Regions from separate parts of the Homo sapiens genome. Here all the other regions are linked to region 3. The links are contacts of gene promoters, found by promoter capture Hi-C in blood cells and fetal thymus (Javierre and others, 2016). All regions are on one chromosome and are shown on one strand. Each heading gives the region's core, a stretch centred on a gene start or on the middle of the fragment in contact. The rest is flanking DNA. Distances are from core to core; before and after follow the strand shown.

Region 1 (3,056 bases), core at 331-2,830, 520 kb before region 3:
TTAGTAGAGACGGGGATTCACCATGTTGGCCAGGCTGCTCTCGAACTCCTGGCCTCAAGTGATCCACCAGCCTTGGCCTCCCAAAGTGCTGGGATTATAGGAGTGAGCCACCGCATCCCACCTTTCTTTAGGATTTTTGCATGAAATGAATTTGACCTCTATTTTCCTTTTCTGTGCTGCCGTTGTCAGTTTTTGATATACTGACTTTGCAAATGATTTTGGAAGCACGTTACCTTCTCCCACGCCCTGTGACAGCTTATAGAGCGGGGAATGAGCTGCTCCTTGGAAGCTGGGAGAACGGCTCCAGTCTTGAGGTCTTCCACTGTGGGATTCTTGGCTTCCCACTCCCCAAGCTTCCTTCTCTTCTCTCTTCCTCAGTCCTCCCAGGTACAAATCTGTAAACCTCAGAGCTCCCAGGCTCATGCCCGAGAGCCATCTTTGATTCTTGGCTTCCAATGTTCAGCCACTAGGTCCCATGGGTCCTTACTTTATATGCCCTTCAGCTAACAAGCATGCCTATTTCCACACTGAACTGGGCATATCCACCTTGAGTGAATTCCAGGTGCTGCATTTGGAGGATGCTGAGCAACCACTTCATATCCAGAGATAGGTGACCAGGATAGCGATGACAGAATATGAAGTAATTAAGAAGTAGCGAGGTTTTTCTCCAAGAAGAGAAGACAGAGGAGAAGTAGTATCTGTCTTCAGATGTTTGACGAGCAGTGTCCTTTGAAAAAGGTGAAGACTTCTCAACTGGGTGTCATTCTCTGGAATGGAAAAGGGATGACAGAAGGAAAATTGTAAGAAAATAGACTCCAGCTCACTAGAAGGAAGATCTCAGAGAAATTCAGAGCAGGTCAACAGTGGAATGGGAGGCTTCGTGGTGGCTAGTTTCCCGTTGGGGAAGTATGCAGGGAAAATACATGTTATATATTATGGAAATGATAGCCGTGAGAAAGGAGACCAATATAGCTTATTTTTAAAGAGCCTGTAGTTCTCTAAATCATGGTGGCCATGTCTGACTGGTTGTGTAAACGCTGGTTGTTCTGAGAACATGATTTGAGTTTGAGTAGTTCAGTGACCTTGAATAAACAGGTCCCAAAGCTGGGCAGTTTGCTCAGAAACCCCACAGCCCTGCTTCACAGCCCGTTCTCCGCAGCAGAAGCACCTTGGCTGTGAGAAAACCATAGCCATTCATGGATACTGGGATCCTCGCCCACATCCTCTGCTGGGAGCATGGGCTTTTCTTGAGGTCTCTTGTTCTTGGCTCCTTCTGATACTTGGTAAAATAAACTAATTGAACACCATTTCAAAATTGCCTTCCTCCGTGAGTGTCCCAGATAAGATCTTGGGGCCAACCTATCTCACCTCCAGGTTGAGCTGGGAATTGATGTCCTCTTGTTCTTGGGGTTTTCACGTCAATGTTTCATAGGTCTTTGCACTGTGCATTCACTTCTGTACCATGTTGAGAGTTTCATTTTGAGAAAACGAAAAGCTCTGCGCTCTCCTTGGCCTGTTATTGTGCTTAAGAGAACACAGGGGGCTGTGATGTGATGTACGGGCTACAGGATGGGAATAGGAGATGTAATCTCTAGTCCTGGCCCCTAATTACTTCCTCATCTTGCTGAGTCTGTTTCCTCCTGGACCAACTGGACTCTATGATTCTGACCACCTGGGAGTTTTCAAAGCCTGCTCTCCAAGAGTTTTCTTGTGGGAGCTGCTCTGATGGGCTGAGCAGAGAGGGGACCTGCTCCTTCCCTCATGGTGCCACCTTATGACAGGACTCCCAGTGACTATGAGTCCCTCTTCAGACCTCAATGGCAGAAACCCACCCTCTAGCCCATGCTTCTGCTGGAAGGCTTCCTTTCAGGTCACTGGTGGCTCTGGAATGGCAAGTTCCAATAGTCTCTTCCCAACCTGCATCTTTTTTTTTTTTGAAGTCTCCATAAAGTCTGATGCCCGACAAATTTTTGTTTTATTTTTTATTTTTGAGAAAGGGTCTCACTCTGTCACCCAGACTGGAGTACAGTGGCACGATCACAGATCACTGTAGTGTCAACCTCCCCAGGCTCAGATGATCCTCCTGCCTCAGTCTCCTGAGTAGCTGGGACTACAGGTGTATGCCACCACGCCCAGCTAATTTTTTGTGTGTGTTTTTTGTAGAGACAGGGTCTCACTATGTTGCCCAGGCTGTTCTCAAACTCCTGGGCTCAAGTGATCTACCTGCTTCGGCCTCCAAGTACATGCGGGTTATTTTCACTTGATGCCCTATTTCAACTTGAGCAATATCCAGAGCCCAACTCTGCATCCACAAAGCAGGCTTCCTGTGCAGACTTCCCCATTTCTGTCTCTGCTGAAACCAGACTCCCAGCCTTGAAACCTTGGACTCATCTCCGAGTCCTCCCTCCATCTTCCTTGTTCCCCACTCCCCAGCCCGTTTTGATGGTGCTTCCTTTCTCCATGGCTCTTGTTTCTCTCACTTCCCCATTGTTCTCTCTCCTACCCAATTTGGCTTTATTTACCATATGCCTCTGGTGGGCCTTTTGGACCACAGGCTCTTCCTCTCTTCACCAGGAGATTCTTCTTATGAAAACTTCTATGTCACTGTGTTCAGATACTTTGATGGCACCCCACTGCTTAGGGAGAGTCCAGAGTCCTTAGTCTTCTGTTCAGGTTTCGAAGTTGAGTCCCACTCCTTTCTCCACGAATCATCACGCTCTCCTCCAGCCAGACTGCCTGACTCAGTTTTCCCAAGACCTAACGTGTGTTCTTGCCTCACTCATCCCCTTCCCAATGAGGGAAGCTTTCCAATCATTTTGTTCAGTGCTGACTCTCCAGTGCCTTGCAGGGGCCAGCACTTGTCATTCAATCAGTGCTTGCTGAATGAGTGATTGCCTGGTCGAGCAGCCAGCATGGAAGAGGCCCGGGCCTCAGCCTTGGATGACTGATGATCGGGCAGGCTGGGCTGCTCCCCATCTGAGACCTCTGTGGGGTTCGGTCATCCTCCCCTCAAGGACCCTCCAGACATATCACTGGTCTTCTGTGCACAACTGCAA
Region 2 (3,310 bases), core at 510-3,009, 570 kb before region 3:
AGGACCCGGGCGGGCAGGAAGGCGCGGAGCCGGGGTCGCGGCCCGGAGCAGGCTGGGGCTCGCCGGGACCGCGGCCAGAGCGCGCCAAGTGCGCAGGACGCGGGGCTGGGGCTCTGGCGTGCGCCCCTCGCCGCGCACCAGTGCCTACTTTTCCACGCACCGCCCGGGATGGCCGCCCCCAGACGGCCCCGGCCCGCGGCCACCCCCGCCATCCCCGCGCAGGCTCTACGCCGCTCCAGCTGCCCTCCGAGGCCTTCAAGAAAACTTGGGCGCCGCCCTCCGACCGCAGCCCCAGCCAGAGCTTCCCGAGCGCGGGGCAGCCGCGGGCCGCCCCCACCCGGCCGCGACTCGGGATCCGCGGGTGGCACTTACCTCCCCGAGGCGCCGGCGGCAGCGGGAGGCGAGCTCTCCGCGGCTCCCGTTCGAGTGCGCGGGGCACGGAGGAGCGCGCGCCTTTAAGACTCTTCCCCGAGACTCCGCCAGGTGGTGTCACGCCGGCCCGGCCCTCGCGGCTCCTCGCCCCGCGGCCACCCGGCTCCCCTGCCCATCGCGGGCAGAACACCAGCCTCCCGCTCGCACCCTGCGCCCCGCCGCTCGGGCTCCAGTGGAGCTGGGCCAAGATAGGATGCGTGTAACTTGGGACACACAACTATCCAACAGAAAGCCACCCAACCTACACACTCTAGCTTTGGTTTGTCTGGGAGTTGCAGGGGTCTTTTTGTTTGTCTGTTTGTTTGACCGAGTGCTGGGGGTAAAAATGGGGAGGAGAGAGCTGAGAAGTCTGACCCAAGGACGTGCGATCATGTCCCCACTGCCATCACCAGCGACAAACCTCAATTCCATGCTAACTGGTCTTTTTGCCCTTCATCCAAGATGGTCTGCTGACACGCCTCCCCCAATGACCATTAAAATGACTGAAGAGATAAAATAGAGGGAGAACTGTCGCCACTTAACACTAGGGGAATGCGTCATTCACACTCCTGAAACTTAGAAAAGTTTAAGAGGATCCGAGGGATGGCTGAAGGAACTCCACATTCATCAGGCGAGAAGCAGGAGCCGGCCTGGGAATCCCCAGCACAACACTCCCCCGGCGCGCCTCCTCCAAGCTCTGGGTACGTGTGACAGTTCACCCGCGAGGCCGGCGCCTGGGAATCTCTGCCGAGCTTAAGGCTGCTGGAGGACACAGGTTTGCCGGCATAAACTAGGATCCTAGCTTCAGGCCATTATTAAAATTTTACATCATATGCTTGCTCTTTGAAGAATCATTTTTTGACATTGGCATTGTGATTTCAAACTACGTTCATAATTAACTCAGTTTTTCTCTTTTTTTTGGTAGTGGGTGTGTGTGGGGGTGGGGGGCGGTGGTGGCGCAGGTGTGTGTGGGGGCGGGGGGCGGTGGGGGCGCCGGGCCCTGCTCAGTCATCCTGGCTGGAGTGCAGTACAGTGGCGGGATCATGGCTCACTGCAGCCTTGACCTCCCAGGCTCAAGAGATCCTCCCATCTCAGTCTCCCGAGTAGCTGAAACCACAGGTGCATGCCACCACGCCCGGCTAATTTTTAAAACACTTTTTATTTTGTAGAGACAAGGTCTCAATGAGTTGCCCAGGCTGGTTTGGAACTTCTGGCCTCAAGTGATCCTTCCATCTTGGCCTCTCAAAGTGTTGGGAATACAGGTGTAAGCCACTGCACCCAGCCTTCTAACTCAGTTTTTCTGCCTACATTGTTTATTGTCATTTCATTTACGTAAATGACTTCCTCATTCCTGAGTTCCTTACTTTGATTAATTTCTCACACCACTGAAATGCTACTTTGAGTAAACCTTGGGGGAAGGGTGGATGGACGGTGGATTTTTTGAGTCTTCGCATGTCTCAGATTGTCTGTTACTTTATACACAGACAGTAGTTAGATATAAGAGTCTAGGGTCATAATCCTTTATTTACACTTCAACTCTCTAAAATAGGCATGTTGCTAGCATTAAACAGGGAAGCAAATGTAAAGCACTTACCGTGTTCTGCACCTAAGACGTAGTAGAGGATCCATGACTAACTATTTATGACTATCCTTTATTAGTTATTGATTCATTGTCTGTCTTGTGCTTTTTTTTTTTTTTTTTTTTTTTTGACAGGGCCTTGCTCTGTCCCCAGGCTGGAGCTCAGTGGTGCGATCGCAGTTCACTGAAGCCTTGAACTCTTGGGCCCAAGGGATCCAAACCTTGGTCCAAGATGGTCCACTGACACACCTCCCCCAATAACCATTAAAATGACTGAAGGAATAAATAGAGAACCGTCGCCTCCTGTGTAGCTGGGACCACTGTCATGCCTGGCTAATTTTTCAATTTTTTTGTAGAATCAAAAAATCTTTTTGATTCTTTCTTTTCTTTTTTGATGGAGTCTCGCTCTGTTGCCCAGGCTAGAGTGCAGTGGCGCTATCTTGGCTCACTGCAAGCTCCCCTTCCTGGATTCACGCCATTCTTCGGCCTCAGCCTCCCAAGTAGGTGGGACTACAGGCGCCTGCCACCATGCCCAGCTAATTTTTTGTATTTTTTTTTTTTTTTTTAGTAGAGATGGGGTTTCACCGTGTTAGCCAGGATGGTCTCGATCTCCTGACCTCATGATCCGCCCGCCTCAGCCTCCCAAAGTGCTGGGATTACAGGTGTGAGCCACCGCACCCAGCCTTGATTCTTTCTTTGTTGCCCAGGCGGTCTCAAACTCCTGGACTCAAGTGGTCCTCCTGCCTCAGCCTACCAAAATGTTGGGATTACAGGCATGAGCTGCTGCACCCAGCATCTTCTGGTTTTATGGTTAAAGAAATTTCTCCTAGGTTTTATAGAAGACTCTCTTTCTCTATCTCTCTTTTTATGCCATCTGGCTTTAATTTCCTTTCTTTCTTAAAAGAAAAAAAAATCTATAGGTTCTGTTACTGCCTCCTTTACTAAGTGTGACCTTGAGATAGTTTCTTATTCTCTTAACACGTTCGTTGCTTCTCCTATAAAATGAACAAATTGGACCACATGGTTGTTGTGGTACCATCCAGCTTCAATAGGCTGGGTGTTTATTTGCCTATGATTAAAAAGCAACAGCCCTGCCACAATGAAAAACCAATTCACAATGATTAGGATGGCTGTAATAAAAAAGACAGATAATAACAAGTGTTGGCGAGGATATAGAGAAATTGGAACCCTTATACCTCGTTGGTAAGAATGTAGACTGGTGCAGCCATTGGAAATACTCTGGCAGTTCCTCAAAGGTTAAATGTAAAGTTACATATTTACATATGACCCAGCAACTGCAATGCTAGGAATACATCCAAA
Region 3 (3,284 bases), core at 73-2,572:
TTGGTTTCCCTTTACTTCTCTTCAGCCCATGACTTAACGCTGCACTGTGCCCATCAACTTCACGATTTAGCAAAGCAATTAACCAGCAACTCCTGAACAAGCTTCACAGGAAGATTTTTCTCATGACTGAGCAGCCGTTTTTATCCTAGGTGAGTTTTCTCAAAAATAATTGAGTAAGTAATCTACCAGCTTCTGGCATATCTTTGGCAAGTCACATTTTCTGCCTTGTTTTGTAGCTGAGAAGGGTATAAAAATCCCACGAAAAGAAACCAGAACTCCGAGCCTAGAAATGTAAATTATGATCCAAGCTAAACCACTCACCAGTTGGTTGAACCTAAGTATAAATAATTACCCCCATCCCAGCTCCATTTACCCATCGAAATGGCGATAACATAATCAGTTGCAACCACAAGGTGATGCGGTTAGAAAAAGATAGGAAGAAGAGTGCTCTGAAACGTGTAAAGGTGCTACGTAAATAGAAGGTAATAATCAGTGGTGACAGAACTCTCACCTCCTTTGCAAAACTTAAAGGGTCATCTCATGGCTTACAGCAAGAAAAGAGTCGAGCACAAGTAACCCGAGCCCGTTGGTGACACTTTGCCGAACTCCAGGGGGAGGATGATTAGCAGTTCCGGGCGGGAGTCAGGAGAATGCCAATCCGAGCCCAACGTGGGCTGCTCGCGCTCTCGCCCCCCATGGGAGAGAGGCACTGAGAGATCAAAATGCAACCCCGCTCCAAGCCACCCTCGCAAATGAAGGAATTTCGAAGAGGGGGTAGGAGGAGGCGGGCTGGGCGCGCCGCTGCCACCTCCGACTGGGCCACTCCTTGCGCCGCCAGCGCCCCAGCCCACGGTGCCACGTCCCGGCCTCCGTCACCGCCAGCCCTCACCCTACCCGGAACGGGGCACATCTTCCGGAGGCCACCGGAATCGTTCCCTTGCAGGCGCCCCTGGGGGGCCACACATCGGACCAGGGAAGGGAGGGGACAGTTAGAGCGGTTGGAACAGTTGCCCCCAGGCTGGCCGCCCCGGAACCCGGCCCGGCCCGCCCCGGCGGAGCCTCAGACACGGCCCCGGGCCGGGAAGGCTCCCCAAGGGCAGGCCTCGGCGCCGCCGGCCCAGCGCAGCCCCTTAGGGAGCGGCCCCGCGCTGCAGGCTCACCTCCAATGTGTCAAAAGCGCATGTTCGCCGCCGCTCAACCGACGTCTCCCCTCCGCCGGCCCGGCCAGGCCCGCCCAGCCGCTCGGCTCAGCTCCCCTACGCAGCCCCGAGCTCCACTCAGCGTACCTCCGCGCCCGGCTCCTCCCCGACACGTCAGGGACTGCCTGGGTGTCCGAGGCCATTCTGTGACGCACGGGGGCGGGGCTCGGAGCATGCGCGGCAGCGCACGGGTATGCGGGGCGGGGTGGGGCGGGGCTGGTGTCACAGGGGGCGGGCCAGAGCCCGGCGCGCTGACGCCAAGCTGACGGCGTCCTCTTGCGCAGGCGTCCTCTTGCGCAGGCGCTCCTGGACTCTGCGACCGGCTGGTTTTGGCTTGTGCAGTTCCCTGAAACTGCTATTCGGGAGAGTGGTGCCAAGACGGATGGGAACCTGCCTTCAGTTTTCTGGCCACCAAGGCCCTTCAAGTGTCCATGTGTCTGTGTTCCCGTTTATAAAATGAATCTCGGCTCATAGTTCACCTCCGAGTCCATTCCCCCTGCTCGAACACCCAATGGAACATCAGGAGCATTCTAAGCATCACTCTCACAAAGCTCTGTGTTGTTTTTACAGAACTTCCACTGTTTACATTTTGTATTTGTTCTCATCTTCCTCCAGTAGAATTCTAAGTTCTATGAGAGCTAGAACCTCTTATGCCTTGCTCATCCCAACAGATAACTTGGTTCTAGGCAAAGTGGACGCTCAAATATTTGATGAATGAATGAATGGATTCGTTGGCACAAAGGGGATTTTATATTTGCCCATTTATATATTGTATATATCTGAGCATATATTCATTTTTGTATACATGCGTGTACGTGTGTGTATGGGTGTGACTTTCTCCCCTCCAGGTCCCCCAAGAAATGGAGTCCTATGTGTATATATATACCTCTTACAATCCATCTTGGTTTTTGTTTGTTTGTTTGTTTGTTTGTTTTTGAGACGGAGTTTCGCTCTTGTTGCCCAGGCTGGAGTGCAGTGGCGCGATCTCGGCTCACTGCAACCTCCGCCTCCCAGGTTTAAGCAATTCTCCTGCCTCAGCCTCCCTAGTAGCTGGGATTACAGGCGCCTGCCACCACGCCCGACTAATTTTTGTATTTTTAGTAGAGACGGGGTTTCACCATGTTGGCCAGGCTGGTCTCGAACTCCTGACCTCGTGATCCGCCCGCCTCGGCCTCCCAAAGTGCTGGGATTACAGGCGTGAGACACAGCGCCCGGCCCCATCTTGCATTATTAATGTTTATATATTTTTAGTACGTAAACACACACGTGTATGTGTGTGTGCGCGCGTGTGTATTCCCTAGCGGACTTGGAAGCAAGCTGGAGACGATACTAGCCCAAAAAGGAGGGAAAGAGGGATAGGCAACTTACATAGGGAGTGGAAACTTAAAGGAAGAGATACATTTTAAAAACAATTTTAAGAACTTTTGCTGTATAATGTACAAGGTAATCCTTTCCTTTAGGAGATGGGGTCTACTGTGTTGCCCAGGCTGGTCAAGAACTCCTGACTTCGGCCAGGCGCTGCAGCACTTTGGGAAGCCGAGGCGGGCAAATCACCTGAGGCCAGGACTTCGAGACCAGCCTGGCCAACATGGTGAAACCCTGTCTCTACTAAAAGTACAAAAATTAGCCAGGCATGATGGTGGGCACCTGTAATCCTAGCTACTCCGGAGGCTGAGGCAGGAGAATCGCTCGAACCCGGGAGGCGGAGGTTGCAGTGAGCACCACTGCACTCTAACCTGGGCGACAGAGTGAGACTCCGTCTAAAAACAAACAAAACAAAACAAAAAAGAACTCCTGACTTCAGGCAATCTTCCCACCTCAGCCCCCCACAAAGTCCTGGGATTACAGGCACCAGCCTCCATGCGGCACGCAATGTAATCCTTTCCAATTTCAGTGCTTTTAGGATTGGATTTGTGGGTGTGAACACAAAAATAATGTGTAAGACATGCCTCAAGGTGAAAACAAAGTGAGCCTAGGAGGCCCAGTTTATATTTTTGAGGGCGATGGACATAAACAGGAACAATGCAAGATGGATTGTAAGAGGTACCCAAATCAATAAAGATCAGAGAAGGGATTAATGGGGTT

What was found. Contacts are between HindIII fragments. The CHiCAGO score rates a contact against its expected background, and 5 or more counts as called.
Region 1: a contact is called between a fragment that was not itself captured here and the fragment with the promoter of NDEL1 in region 3, in 9 of 17 cell types (naive CD8 T cells, monocytes, naive CD4 T cells and 6 more). The highest score is 8.7, in naive CD8 T cells.
Region 2: a fragment that was not itself captured here is called in contact with the fragment with the promoter of NDEL1 in region 3 in 3 of 17 cell types (total CD8 T cells, total B cells and naive B cells); the score reaches 6.5 in total CD8 T cells.

What each region holds. Positions count from the first base shown.
Region 1 is chr17:8,955,095-8,958,150 of GRCh38, reverse strand. All of the region lies in intron 1 of PIK3R5 (phosphoinositide-3-kinase regulatory subunit 5), which reads left to right. Among named protein-coding and RNA genes, the nearest start is that of PIK3R5, 9.1 kb to the left of the region's middle. RefSeq lists enhancers at 2,468-2,967, 2,968-3,056. The HindIII fragment of the contact is 2,450 bases long and covers 356-2,805 here.
Region 2 is chr17:9,000,207-9,003,516 of GRCh38, reverse strand. It overlaps a transcript of NTN1 not described here. Among named protein-coding and RNA genes, the nearest start is that of NTN1, 20 kb to the left of the region's middle. RefSeq lists silencers at 320-369, 400-509. The HindIII fragment of the contact is 4,981 bases long and covers 1-3,310 here.
Region 3 is chr17:8,433,922-8,437,205 of GRCh38, reverse strand. NDEL1 (nudE neurodevelopment protein 1 like 1) reads right to left here and starts at 1,322. Exons shown (of 9, transcript NM_030808.5): 1 at 1,161-1,322. RefSeq lists silencers at 769-1,008, 1,049-1,248, 1,349-1,518. The HindIII fragment of the contact is 3,991 bases long and covers 104-3,284 here.